2 separate regions of the Homo sapiens genome follow, and region 2 is linked to region 1. The links are contacts of gene promoters, found by promoter capture Hi-C in blood cells and fetal thymus (Javierre and others, 2016). All regions are on one chromosome and are shown on one strand. Each heading gives the region's core, a stretch centred on a gene start or on the middle of the fragment in contact. The rest is flanking DNA. Distances are from core to core; before and after follow the strand shown. Region 1 holds the start of HUWE1 (HECT, UBA and WWE domain containing E3 ubiquitin protein ligase 1). Region 2 has its middle 110 kb from the start of GNL3L.

What was found. Contacts are between HindIII fragments. The CHiCAGO score rates a contact against its expected background, and 5 or more counts as called.
Region 2: a fragment that was not itself captured here is called in contact with the fragment with the promoter of HUWE1 in region 1 in 1 of 17 cell types (total B cells); the score reaches 5.4 in total B cells.

The regions. Positions count from the first base shown.
Region 1 is chrX:53,683,638-53,691,108 of GRCh38, forward strand. HUWE1 (HECT, UBA and WWE domain containing E3 ubiquitin protein ligase 1) reads right to left here and starts at 3,082. Exons shown (of 84, transcript NM_031407.7): 1 at 2,951-3,082; 2 at 2,633-2,731. RefSeq lists an enhancer at 2,426-2,505 and silencers at 2,716-3,015, 3,089-3,263. The HindIII fragment of the contact is 15,452 bases long and covers 1,369-7,471 here.
Region 2 is chrX:54,638,473-54,645,258 of GRCh38, forward strand. It overlaps a transcript of GNL3L not described here. Among named protein-coding and RNA genes, the nearest start is that of GNL3L, 110 kb to the left of the region's middle. RefSeq lists enhancers at 711-1,236, 803-932, 1,223-1,472. The HindIII fragment of the contact is 307 bases long and covers 3,557-3,863 here.

The sequences.
Region 1 (7,471 bases), core at 1,832-4,331:
TCGCCTCAACGGACAAGAAACGAGGTGGTCTTCGCCTCAGGTCTAGTTTACCGGCACCCCGGCGTTTCGCCAATCGTCACCTCCTTAACGCTGGGCACCTCAGAGGCGTCATAAAGGCAGATAGCCAACACCTCTGTGCTGGGTCCTGGCCGGACAGACATCAGCCTCCGCCGCCATCTTAACAGCAGGCGGACCGACCCTAGTCACTGCCCCCCCACCCCCCACCCGCGAGCTACCTCAGCCACCGCCAACGAATCCCACGAGGACGTAACCCTGCTCCCGCGAGAATTCTCCGGCTTAGAACGGCACGAGCCGAAGACCTTGCCGCCGCCTCCGCGGCTACTGCAGTCAGTAACCGAGCCACCGCCGCCTCCGCGCGATCCCGCGAGAACCTCTACCGGACGGGAAAAGCCTGAGCCCAGCCCTTTCCAGACCCCTCCTCCCTCCCACCAAAGCCGAAGTAGCTACAGCTTCACCCTACGCGAAGCGAAAAGCAAATGACGCACAACCTAACGAAGCAGTGAGGGGCGGAGCCAACCTACCACGGCCGGCTCCCGCATGCGTTGAGAACTATCGCGATATTACGCTTTAGCCTCGGCGAGACCTTCTTAATTCACCGCAGGATGCCGCCCGCGCCTCGCCTTTAGGAAACATGAGATATCGCGAGACCTGGTGCACACTCCTAAAAAGGAGAAAGGCGGAGCTTCATGAAAATGACTGGGAGTTTTTCGGGGGAAGGGAGGAACCCTCCCGTCCTGCAGGGATCTCGCCTACCACGAGGTTTCCGACCCACTGCGGAGCTGGCTGCCAAACCTCGCGATGACACAGCTCAGCGCCAAATCTCGGCCATGTCCTGAAAACTGCCTCCGCCCCCGATCTAGGTGTCTAGAGCCTAGTGCTTGAGGAAAATTTAAAAAGTCAACCTGTTTATTCTCACGCTTCCGGGCAAGGCTGTACCAATTAGCCAAACTCCATTCTGGAAGCGGAGCAAAGAGTCCCCCATTGTTACCTGTCTCCAGGAATAACATATTATCCTGGACTAACATTTAAAAGACGTTCAATCTCACAGTAAGCACACAAATGCAAATGAAAACAATGACATAACATTTTTTGCCCATTAGATAGGGAAAAAAATTTTTAAACCTACATTATCCAGACTCCTTCCCTCGCCGCACTGCAGGCTAACCTGAATCCATCTTAATCTAACTAAAGGCCATATCATTAGTTCTAGTTCCAAAGCCACCAATTTTAACTACTGAAGCTTTACCTTGGCATAACCAAAAAGATCCAATAAAGTGGTTTTCTCCAAACAAAGGAGTCTGCCCTCAAAGGAATATTCAAGCTTCGGGGATGGGGGGAAATGCCTGAAGCTTTTAATATGGCAGTTTTTCCACGTCTAGCCAACAGTGTTTCTCCAATAAATCTTGGGATCCAATCTGGCTTGATTTGTGGGCTTTTCCATTCTAATGCATTGTTCTGTCCGTTCTAATTTAAATAGTTCCTTTAGAGTACATTTTAATAGCCAGTAGTACAAATATCCCTATCTTTACTTACGTTTTAAAATATTTTTTTTCAGTTATTCTTAGCCATTTTTTTCCCCCGGATGAACTTTAGAATCATAGTAAGTTCCAAAAAAACTTGGTATATTTATTGAAATTGCATCAACTGTATAAACCAATATAGGAAAAATGGACATCACTAAAATATTGAGCCTTCTTATTCAGAAGCATAGTATTCCTTCTCTTTTCATGCAGATGTTCTTTTATGGTATTCGTCAATAAAGTTTTATAGTTTACTTCTAGGTATTTTTATTCGTTTCTCTTGCTATTGCGAACAGGTTTTTTATTATTAAAATTTCAAAATGCTTATTGCTTATAGATAGGAAAACTGCCTATATAAACTATTGATATTTGCCTATTTACAAACAAAAATATGATCAATTTCGCCAGTAATCAGGGAAATGCAAATGAAAACAATGACATACGATTTTTTTGCCCTTTAAATTGGCTAAAATTACAAAGATTGATAATACGTGTTGGCATAACTGTGGAAAAATAGGCACTCTCGCACAACATTAAAGAGTGTAAATTAGTACAGGCTTTTGGGAAGGCAATTTGGACAAATCTATCAAAATTCAAAATGCATATACACCCTGACCCAGCGGTTACTCTTCTAAGAATTTCTCCTACAGAAATACTCATACATGGCATGATACATATACACAAACCCATTCATTATGGCATTGCTTGTAATAGTCCCCTCCCTCCCCCAACAGAGAAACAAGCTAATGTATATCAATCGGGAAATGGTTAAATAAACTGTAGTACAATCATACAATGCAGCTGTTTAAAACCCAACATAAATTTGGATTCCCGGATATAAGAAGATCTACAAGACATATTCTCAGATTTTTAAACAAGCAGTTAGTCGAAATGAATGTGTGTGTGTGTGTAGTACCATTTAGATATCAAAACATATATATGCAACGCCTAGTAGTTACCCGCGAAGCCTGCCTGCCCGCCCCTCACCTTCCCTCTCCTCTGAGGCCGCCTTCCTCGAACCAGTGAGAAACGCTGAAGGCCCGGCCTCTACTCTCTCTTTAGGGCCACTTGGCCATGGCTAATGCCGGTACCTCGCATCCCCTCTGTCAGCCGCTCTCTCGCCGCGCCGCCGGCAGCTGCCGGGCTGCCCCCGAAGATGCGGCTAGCTCTCCGCTGGCGCCTGCCGAGGCCTGGGGGAGGGGAGAGGAGGCGGGGTTCAGGGAGGGTTGGGGCAGGCCGCCCTGCCCCTCCAGCAGCCTTTCCCGCAGGCTCCCCAAGGCCGCCACCTCCGCGCCTCCGCGCAGGGTCCCGTGGGAACTCCCCCCCCAACCTCGCCACTGCCACCCGCGAGAAACCGAGAACGGCCGCGCGTACAGAGCTCGCCCTCCAGCCCAGGGATAGACGCTCACCTCGGCCGCAATGGCTCCGCGGGGCCCGCAGGAGCGTGCGGGGTCCGCGGCCCTGCTTCAGCCCTGCTTCAGCCCTGCTCCAGCCCTGCTCCAGCCCTGCTCCAGCCCTGCTCCCCTCGCTAGCCCTCAGTCGAAAGCCTCCTCGCTTCGGCTCAGCTCAAACTCGATTTGGGGCTCCACCCACCGCAAGCGAAGCCCCGCCCCTGCCCCTCGGGAGGGAGCTCCCTCCGCGGTGAAGTCGGGTCCCTTGCAGGGGACCGCGCCTGAGCTACCCAAGGCCCAGTAAATGCAACCATAGAGGATGATAGGGTCGCTAAGAATTGGGATTTGATTCGAGGCACGGTGGAAGCCGCGGAAGGGAACATGATTTGATCTGATTTACCTTTAAAAATTAACGACCTCGCCAGATGCCTTGTGAAGAATGGGGAGTGTGGGGCAAGAGGGCAAGGCTGGACCCAGAGCGGAGGGTGGGAGACGACGTGGGAAGCCGACCACCCAGAGTTCACGCGAGCAAACCCTTAAAACACTTCAGGCACATAGTAAGCCCTCAATAAACATTCTTTTTTCCTCCTTTAATTATTTGGAACGGCAGTGCGATTGACAAGGATCCTGTAGAGGATCTGCATCTGTAAATACATGGGAATAAAAAGGACCTGGTGGGAGATCACCTGTTAACCCTACTTAATTATTGTGGGCTGCGGACGACATTGGAGGGGCGAAGAACTTTGACTTGGAACTCTAGCTACTTCGATAAGGTTTCAATTTTTAATAAAAAGTATGTATTAATTTAGTATTTAAAGACAAAAGCACTATTAAAAGAACTCCTGAGACATCGAGGAAATAAAAACTGTGATTATACCCTCCACTTCTCTAATTCCAGCCCTCCAGAGCAGTGGTTCATCCCTCGAATTGAGAATCTAATGAATGGGTCCCCCACCCCAATATATACTTACACATAAAATTTTGTATATGATCTCAGGAGATGTACAGGGCCCCTTCGAGATACACTGTTTCATTGAATATTTTTACAATTTTTTTTTTTTGAGACAAAGCATCACTCTGTCACCCAGGGTGAAGTGCAGTGGCACGGTCACGACTCACTGCAGCCTCGACCTCCTGGGCTCAAGGATCCTCCTGCCTGCCTACAGTCTCCCAAGTAGCTGGGCCTCCAGGTATGCGCCACCACGCCTGGATAACTTTTTATTTTTTGTAGAGGCGGGGTCTCACTATGTTGCCAGGCTGGTCTCAAACTCTTAGGCTCAAGCAGTTCACCCGCCTCGGCCTCCCAAAGCGCTGGGATTACAGGCGAAAGACCCGGCCCATCTGTAACATTTAGTGGCAACATGAAGCTATACTTTCTTTAGCATGTAATTAACTTCGGTTGTTCTTTTTTCATTTTAAAATTGGTTTCCTAATTACACATGATTATTGTAAAACACGGATAAATTTAAAGTTCCCCTTACATTCATATACACAAATAGAAAAGCATGGCTTTGTTTTTGTTTTTCATTTAAAAAATAAATAGCATCCTTTTTATGTATTGTTATGTTAATTGCTTTATTCACTTAATGTAGCTTGAAGATCTTTCCATGTCAATATATATAAATCTACCTCATTTATCTTACCTACTGCATAGTATTCCATTGAATGAATATACTGTAATCATTCATCTATGGATAAACACATGTTATTTTCAATCTTTGACTATTACAGTGGGGTTTTTTTTTTACTGTTAACAATGCTGCAATAAAATTCCTTGTACATGCTTTTTTCTGCAGATGCTAAAATATTTCTGTGAGATAAACATGGAGAAATGAAATAGTTGGATAAAGGTAGCACACATTTTTTTTTTTTAAGATAGTGTCTCACTGTCACCCAGGCTGGAGTGCACTGGTGCGATTAGGGCTTACTGCAGCCTTGACCTCCAAGGCTCAAGCGATCCTCCCACCTCAAGCAATCATCCCACTTCAGTCTTCCCTCGAGTAACTGGGACTATAGGCGTGTGCTATCACGCCTGGCTAATTTTTGTATTTTTTGTAGAGATGAGGTATCACTACGTTGCTCAGGCTGGTCTCAAACTCCTTGGCTCAAGTGATCCTCCTGCCTCGGCTTACCAAAGTGCTTGGATTACAGGCGTGAGCCACTATTCTCTGCCCAAAGATAGCACATTTTGAAATTCTAATACATAATGTCAAATGACAAATTGCCACGTAGAACGACTATTTCAGTTTATACCTCCACTAGCAGTGAGTAAGAATTAGCATTTCCCTAAATTCTTACCCGGACTCGATATTAACCAATCATTTTAATATTTTGCCAATATAATGGGTGAAAAATGTCTCATTATTTACATTTCCCTGATTATTAGCTAAGGAGTATTTTCTTTCTTTCTTTCTTTCTTTCTTTCTTTCTTTCTTTCTTTCTTTCTTTCTTTCTTTCTTTCTTTCCTCTCTCTCTCTCTTTCTTTTCTTTCTTTCTCTTTCTTTCTTTTTTTTTTTGAGACAGTCTCACTCTGTCTCCCAGGCTGGAGTGCAGTGGCATGATCATGGCTCACTGCAGCCTCGATCTCCTGGGCTCAAGGGATCTTCTTGCCTCAGCATCCTGAATAGCTGGGATTACAAGTGCAAGCCACCATGCCTGGCTAATTTTTTTTGGGGGGGGAGGGGGGAGTGGGGAACAAGATGAGGTCTCACTATGTTGCCCAGCCTTGTCCCAAACTCCTGGGCTCAAGCAATCCTCTCCAATCTGCCTCAGCCTCCCAAAGTGTTGTTTCAGGCGTGAGCCACCGCACTGTGCCCCAAGAGATTTTTATCTATTTTATTATGAAAGTTTTCAAACATACGACGTTGAAAGAATTTTACATCTGTATACCCACCACATTGATTTTACCATGTTTTGTTATAACTTTACTACATATATGTCATTTATCTATCCACCAATCAAGCCATCTTATTTGTATGCATTTCTCTTTCTCATGTAACTAAACTCTCCAGAGTTTATTCTGTTGATATTTTCAAAGAACTATTTCTTAGATTTATTTTTCTGTTCTACCATTTTTCCCATTCTCTACTTAAGTTATTATTTTCAGCTTTAATGTTTATTAATATCTTCCTCCAGTTTTCTCTAAGTTTATTTTTTTCAGTGTTTTACTTCATATGAAGTGCTCTCATTCTTATTAATTTCTAGTTTATAATTTTAGGTTTGATTTCTTCTTTGACCATGAGATATTTAGAAGTATTTTCTTTGTGAGGTGACTCAAATTTTTTCTTATCTGGATGTTTTTGTGGTTAGAGGTTAGCTGTACTGCACTGTGTTCCATTAATGTGACTTTTATTATTTCTACTATTGGAAATGCATTGTGCTTTCTTTTATGATTCAGTACCTGATCAATCTTGGCAAGAGTTGCATAGGCATTTTTAAAAACTTTATAGCGTACAATTTATGTGCTTTTATAACTGTTTTCTTCATACATTTAATGGAATATTGGTTGCTATGTATGTTTATGACAGAAGATAGTCTTGGTAGATAGTCTCTTTTTTTCTTTTTTTAGAGACAGGATCTCACTCTGGTGCCTAGAGCTAGAGTGCAGTGGCACAATCATAGCTCACTGTCACCTCAAACTCTTCAGTATCTCTCTTTACCCTGTTTAAAGTTTTTTTTTTCCTTGAATACTATTTTTCTTTCTTTCTTTCTTTTTTTTTTTGAGACACAGGACACAGTTTCACTCTGCCACCCAGGCTGGAGTACAGTGGTGCAATCTCGGGTCCCTGCAACCTCTGCCTCCCTGGTTCAAGCGATTCTCCTGCCTCGGCCTCCTTAGTAGCTGGGATTACAGGCCCATGTGCCACCACACCCGGCTAATTTTTGTATTATTAGTAGAGATGGGGTTTCACCATGTTGGCCAGAATGATCTCGAACTCCTAACCTCAAGTGATCCACCCACCTCAGCCTCCCAAAGTGCTGGGATTACAGGTGTGAGCCACTGTGCCCAGCCTGAATACCAATTTTTCTAATATTCATGCTGTCATTTTTGTATATGTAAATATCTTTTTTTTTAACTGATTACAGAAGATCAGACAAATCCACAAATTATTCGAATAGAGTTAATGGCATGATGTATATTCTTTCAGAACTTTTTCTATATATACATTTACACCTATATTACAATGCAGATTTTTTAAACCAAAAAAGGAGAAATAAAGATATATTTAAGTTTTACAACTTGCCTTATTGACAATGCATTCTTGAAATTCTTTCTGTCAGTGTCTATACGTTTACCTTATTCTTTTTAATTGATCTCTGGAGCTGGCACTTACACAGTGCCTGGCCCATCACTTGCTTTTTTTAAAAAAATTAAATATTGCTTCAGGGAAGCCTTCCTTGACCCCCGCCGCCCCGCCAAAACTGGATCAAGGTCCACTGTAATACGCGTTCATAGTACTCTGCTATTTTCCTCCCAAACCACCCAAAACAATTGTACAGTTGTGTGATTAATATCTGTTCCTCACCACCCTACACACA
Region 2 (6,786 bases), core at 2,460-4,959, 960 kb after region 1:
TAATTAATTAATTAATTGAGATAGTCTGGCTCTGTTGCCCAGGCTGGAGTGCAGTGGCGCAATCTCCGGCCCACTGCAACCTCCGCCTCCCGGGTTCAAGCGTTTCTCCTGCTTCAGCCTTCTGAGTAGCTGGGATTACAGGCGCCTGGCTAATTTTTGTATTTTTAGTAGAGACGGGGTTTCACCATGCTGGTCTCGAACTTCTGACCTCAGGTGATCCACCCACCTCGGCCTCTCAAAGTATTGGCATTACAGCCGTCAGCCACCATGCCCGGCCTATATATAGCCCATTTTAAACTGATAAGTTTATCAACCATCTCCTGCCCCCACTGATACTTTCAATTTTTCGTTATTGCCAACAAATCAGCACGGCTTACACTTGTTCATAAGGCTCCTTGCAGTTTTTTGTCCTCTAGATCTAAGGTTCTTAAAGTGTGGTCTTGAACCAGTTTGCCCCAGCATTACCCTGGAAGTTGTTAGAAACACAAGTTCCTAATCTCTGATAGTAGATGGGCCACAACAATCTGTGTTTTAACAAAGCCCTGTAGGTGATCCGCATACACTTCTCTAGGAGTCTTGGATGTATATATATGGAAATGGGATTGCTGAGCCAATAGGATATATACCTTTAAAATAATGTTTTTTAAAATAAAATAGAGAGGGAGGGTCTCACTGTGTTGCCCATGCTGGTCTCAAACTCATGGACTCAAGTGATCCACCCACCTTGGCCTCCCAAAGTGCTGGGATTACAGGCGTTACATTAAAAAAAATTTAATAGTCAAAGAGCTCTCCAAATCAGGCACGAACTTTTACTTATATATTAAGGTCTTACTTTGAATAGGGTTACTAAGCCTGCTGAAATAACCCCTTTTCTTCCGGTACCCACTTTCATCCGACGTGCCCCGCCCGCCCGACTCGATTGCATCAGCCTCCTGTCAGCCCCGCCCCAGTGTACTTGCACTCGCAAGCGCAGCTGGGTTATCTTGGGACTAGACGCTCACGGGGCGGGGCTTCGATTCTCACTCTTGGAGCGGGGAGGCCAAAAGAGTCGGAAAGGGGCGTTATCTCTTTCGGAAGTGAGTGGGACAATGGCGAGCAAGCGGTCGTGAGCCTTGAGCTTTGCAGCTTTTCTTGGCTCCCATTTCCTCCTAAAGCCACGAGTTTACCAGCGTCTCTTACAAGTAGTGTGTCGCCACTTTAAAAAAAACATCAGGAAAGGAAAAGGGAGAACCCCGGAGCCCGAAGCTACGCCCGCCTGCGGCAGGGGTGCGCCAATTGTCCAGTGGTGAGGGCGCATGCGAACCATTGACAATGACGTAATCTTGCAGCTCACAGCCGGAGTGAGGCTTTCGGGGAGGGAGGAGCTCCGGTGAGAGTAACAGGGTCGGATTTGTCTGGGCCAGGCCCAGGCTGAGACGCCTACTAGGGGATGGAGGGCCCCAGAAGGAGGGAGAGGGAGGAGTCTTGGACTCTCTCGGAGAACGAGGCTGGGGCTGGCCACCGAGAGTGGAAGCCGCTGTCCAGAGGTTAGAGCCACCCAAGAGCTGGTAGTCGAGTGGCCGCCAGGGGGTGACCGTGCCTGCGTACGTCCACAAGTGGGCCCATAAAGACTGGCCCATATATTTTTGAAACTGTTTATTTTTGTATCTGTTTCCTCTTCTGCCCTGACATCCCAGAGAAAGAGTTGTGGGTGATTGACCTTTGAATCACCAGCACCTCGGGGAGGGCCTGGTACAAAGAAGACACATTTTTAAGGCGGTTGATTGACGGAAGGAAAAGACTGAAAAAACGAAAACAACAAGCCAAAAACCCCAAACCCAGAGATACCCATACATGACATAAAGTTAAGGCCTTTTTAAAAAGTAATAATAGAGGAGAAATTTTAAATGTCCATCAGCAGAGCTTGAGGCCATGCAGTTTTTAGGTTGTTGCAGTCAGAGTGTACACACAACCCTGCATCCTTAGTTATGGCATAATAATTTTTCTCTGTTGCTATAGAATCTCCACAGCCGTCATCTCTCAGCAATGGTTGTAGAATGTTCCATTAGACAGCTGTGCCACAATTCACTTAACCCTTCTCTTGTTGGATATTAAAACTACTTTCTAGTGTTTGACCACCAAAATATATCTCTGCAAGGAATAATTTTGTGCTTAGAGCTTTTCCTGTAGGAGTAGGGGTGGGTGGATATCGATTTAGGAGCAGAATTACCAGGAAAATGTCATAAACATGTTTTAGGCTCTTGTCGACCCGCTTTCCTGAAAGGGATCATACCCGTTGACATCAGAAGCCAAGTCCGAAATCAAACCTGGTGGACTCCGGGTCTTGTCTGTCTCCAGGCTGGTTTTAATTTCCGTATCCTGCAGCAATGCAGAAGTTTATTATTAGTTCTGACCTTTGGGGCAAGGCAAACACACACCAAAGGTTCGGGGACAACTTTAGCAACTGCAACAGCTGACATTGTGAGCGGGTGCAGCTCAGGTTTCAAGCTTGAGCAACTGGGTTGGATGAACTTGCCTCACTGAGACAGGGAATCTGAGAAGAGGAACAGGTTTGGGAGGGAGCAGATGAGATCAGTTTTAAATACATTTAGTTCGAGGTGCCTTTGGGACATCTAAAGGGAGGTATCCAGGAGACAGGCATACATACGGATAAACAACAGTTTTTGCCCTTCTCTGAACTCCCAGAGCTCCCTATCTGTGGATTTCTCATGGCTCAGTTTGCCTTTTACCTTTTACTATCCTCAGAGCTCCTTGAGGCCAGGATAAGGGCCTCATTCATTTGTGTATCCTTCCTCCCAGTGCCCAGTACAGTGCTTTATACCTAGAAGGCCATAAAAGTCTGTCCTGTATAATGAAATTTCATTGATTTCTTAATTGGATGATTCCTGCAGTAGGGGTCCTGATCTGGGTGAAAAAGTTTGGGAACCTTAAGAGTTCTGGGAAGGCTTCCTGTAAGAGGTGGCATAATGTTACCGTGAATAATTATGACTATTTGTTGAACACCTGCCATGTTCCAGTCACTCTGCTGCACACATGCATCAGAGATGCCACCACTATCTTTGATGGCCACTGGCCATCTTTACATCCCCTTCTGGGAGCACTGGCTCTACTTACAGCTCCTACCAAATGATCAAGCAAGGACTAACTATGTATTACATCCACCCTTCCTTTAGGATACAGCACCTGATCCAAGGCCAGCCCACAACCTGTGAGTTGTATGGCCCAGCTTTAGAAGATGAGGTGGGCCAATCAGATTGCTCTCTTGGGAATGTGAAATAAGAGATCCAGAGGAGAGTTGCCAGTTAGTTGTGGGGAGCTGAGCTGACAGGTCCAGTAGACCAGGATGCTGGGTAGGTGGGTGCAGCATTATGAATCAGGTCAAGTGCCTGTTAAAATCCTGGGGGAGCAGTTCAAGGTGGTTGGCTGAATGAGGAAGCTGGGGCAGATGTACAGAGAGAAGCAGACATGTAGTGCAGATGAATTACATTAATGGTAAAGCTCCAGAGCAGAGGGTCCATGCCTCATCCAGAAATTTCCTGCAGCTCCAGGCTTAATAAGCTTTATCTGTACTTCACTTCCTGCCCTTGGATTTCTGATTCGTGATCTAGCTTCACTGGGTTTCTGTTCCTTGCATCCAAAAGAGTCTTAACAAAAACAGCCTTTTAAATAGGTTTAATTTAATTTGCACTTCGGCCCTCTGAGGTGAGTGTACTTTTCCTCATTTTACAAGTGAAGAAACTGAGGCTTAGTGAGATTAACTTGACTAAGGTGACACAGCCAGTGATGGAGCTGGTCTGTCAGATTCTCTTAATCTTTTTTTTAAAAGCATTAATATGTTATTTTTATTTTTAAAAATGACCACAAGCTTGTCATATAAAAACAAAAGCAATCAATACAGACATAATCTGATCTGAACATCAATCAGCTCCTTCGACTCTTCCTTTCATTTATTTCCTTTCAATGTAAAGGAATGTAGCTCCAGCTACATTGGCCTCTGTTTCCAGAACACGCCAAGGTTGTTCTCACCTTTGGTCCTTTATACTGAGTGTTCCTTCTCTTTATTTAAAAAAAAATTTTTTTTCCTTCGCCAGCTTTAAACAGAGAGTCCCTTCTCTTTGTAATGCTTTTCCCCTTGCTTTTCCAGTGGCTGGCTCCTTCTTGTCATTGTCTTCACTCAATTGTCACTTCTTCAGAGAGGACTTTGCCAAACCACGCAGTATGAAATAGCCCACACAACTCTTGGCCCCACTGCTTTCTGTCATATAAACTCCTTTTTATTCCCTGCATAGCCCTTGTCACTGTTTGAAATTGCGTTGCTCATTTATGTAATTGTTTATTGTCTGCCTCCTCTTCAGAAATGAGAACAGAAGCCTTATCTGTATCCTGAGGATCTAAAACTGCTGGTATGTAAGTTCAATCAATATTTGTAGAATAAATGAATGTATAAACTAAAAACAAAGTTCTCATCCAATGCTTTTCTCTCCTAATACCAATCTCCAGAGACAGTAACTGTTAACAGTTTTGTCTACATCTTCCCATTTTCCATGCATATACAAACAAGCATGTATCTTTCTGCATAAAGATAAATATGAATATATGCTTTTGTTTACACCAATGAAAGTTCTATAATTGCCTTTTTCATATAACACTTAACATCTTCCTGTACCAATACATATACATCTACCTTATTAAAAACAAGACAAAACAAATTCATATTATTACAATGTATGGAGTTACCAGAATTTATTTAATTGGATGTCTTTTAGTGGTTATTTTTTTCTAATTTTTTGTTTTTATGTGTTGTAATATTGAAATAAATATTCTTATTATATATGTATTTGCACAAATGTCTCCCACACCCATTTGTTGTCTTTTGTCTTTGCTTGTGGTATATGCAAAGATAAACTTTGTTTAAACTTATATGGTTAGGTTTACCAATCATTCCCTTTATGGTTTTTGGGTTTTGTTTTCTTTTTAAATAATTTAATTTAATTTTAATTTTTATGGGTACACAATTTAATTTTTATGGGTTGTACATGCCTATGGGTTACATGTGATATTTTTATACCTGTTTATGATGTGTAATGATCCAGTCAGGGTAATTGGGATAACCATCACCTCAAACATTTATCATTTCTTTGTGTTGGGAATATTCCAAATCTACTCTTTTAGTTATTTTGAAATATACAATAAATTATTGTTAACTATAGTCACCCTATGGTGCTACCAAACACTAGATCTTATTCCTACCATCTAACTGTATTTTTGTACCCATTAACCAACCCCTCCTTATCCCCACCTCTCCACTACCCTTGCCAGCCTCTGGTAATCATCCTACTACTCTCTACCTCCACAAGATCAGTGTTTTCTTAACTCCCACGTATGAGTGAGAACATGTGATATTTGTTTTTCTGTGCCTGGCTTATTTCACTTAACATAATGTCATGCATGTTGTTATAAATGACAGGATTTCACTCTTTTTGTATGGCTGAATAATATTCAATTATGTATATATACCACATTTTCTTTATCAATTCATCCGTTGATGGACACTTAGGTTGATTCTGTGTCTTGACTATATTGAATAGTGCTACAATAAACATGGGAGTGCAGATATCTCTCCAATATACTGATTTCCTTTCTTTTGGATGTATACCTAGCACTGGGATTGCTGGATAATATGGCAGTTCTAGTTTTAGTTTTTTGAGGAATCTCCAAACTGTTTTCCATAGTGGCTGTACTACTTTCCATTCCCACTAACAGTGTACAAACATTCTCCTTTCTCAGCATCCTTGCCAGCATCCGTTATTTTTTGTCCTTTTGAGAAAAGCCATTTTAACTGCAGTGATTACAAATACTTTACCCACTCCAAAATTATGTATTAAAAATGATTCATCCATGTTGTCTGCTAGTACTTTTATGGTTTCAGTTTTACAGTTAAATCTTTGATCTATCTGGAATTTATTTTGGGGTAGGATTTAGGACAGGGATCTAGCTTCTTTTCCTTTCAAATGCTAAGTCTACTGTCTCTGTACCATCTATTGACTAATAATTATTGACTCATTGAATTGGAATGTCACCTTTATCAAATATGGAGTTTTCATATGTGCTTTTGTTTATTTCTGCACTATTTTATTCTATTGATCTGAATGTCTGTGCCTGCACCAGTGCCACCCCATTGTAATTAATGTAACTTCAAAATATATATCTTCATATCTGGTTGGGCAAAGCCTCTTTTGCTTCTTTTTCAGAAAATTTCTGCCTGTTTTCACATACTTATTCTTCCAGGTGAATCTTAGCACACATTGTGAAAGTAAAAATAATATAAAATTGCCTATTGACATTTTGACCGGGATTATATTGAATTTATAGGTTAATTTAGAGAAAATCATTGTCTTTTATAATATCGAATCTTCCTATTGGAGAGTAAGGTATGGATTTCTAGTTATTCAATTTTTTATGTTAGTAGAATTTTAAAGTTTTATTTTTATATGTTTTATGTGTTCCTTGTTAGGTTTATTCCTATTTTAGTTGCTATTGTGAAGGGGATATTTTTCCCTTATCTTTTTGAACTGGTTGTGGGAAAGCAATTACCAGTACGTCACTAAATCCTATTATTGTTTTTAATAGGTTTTCCATAAATTTCCTCAGGCTTTCAAGTTACACAGCTATGTCATCAACAAATAGAGATTATTTTGCTCCTATAATAGCTATCCCAAGTTTGTGCCTCATTTAATTATCTTGTCTAATTGTGTTATGTATTGCCTTCAGAATAGTAATAGTGGT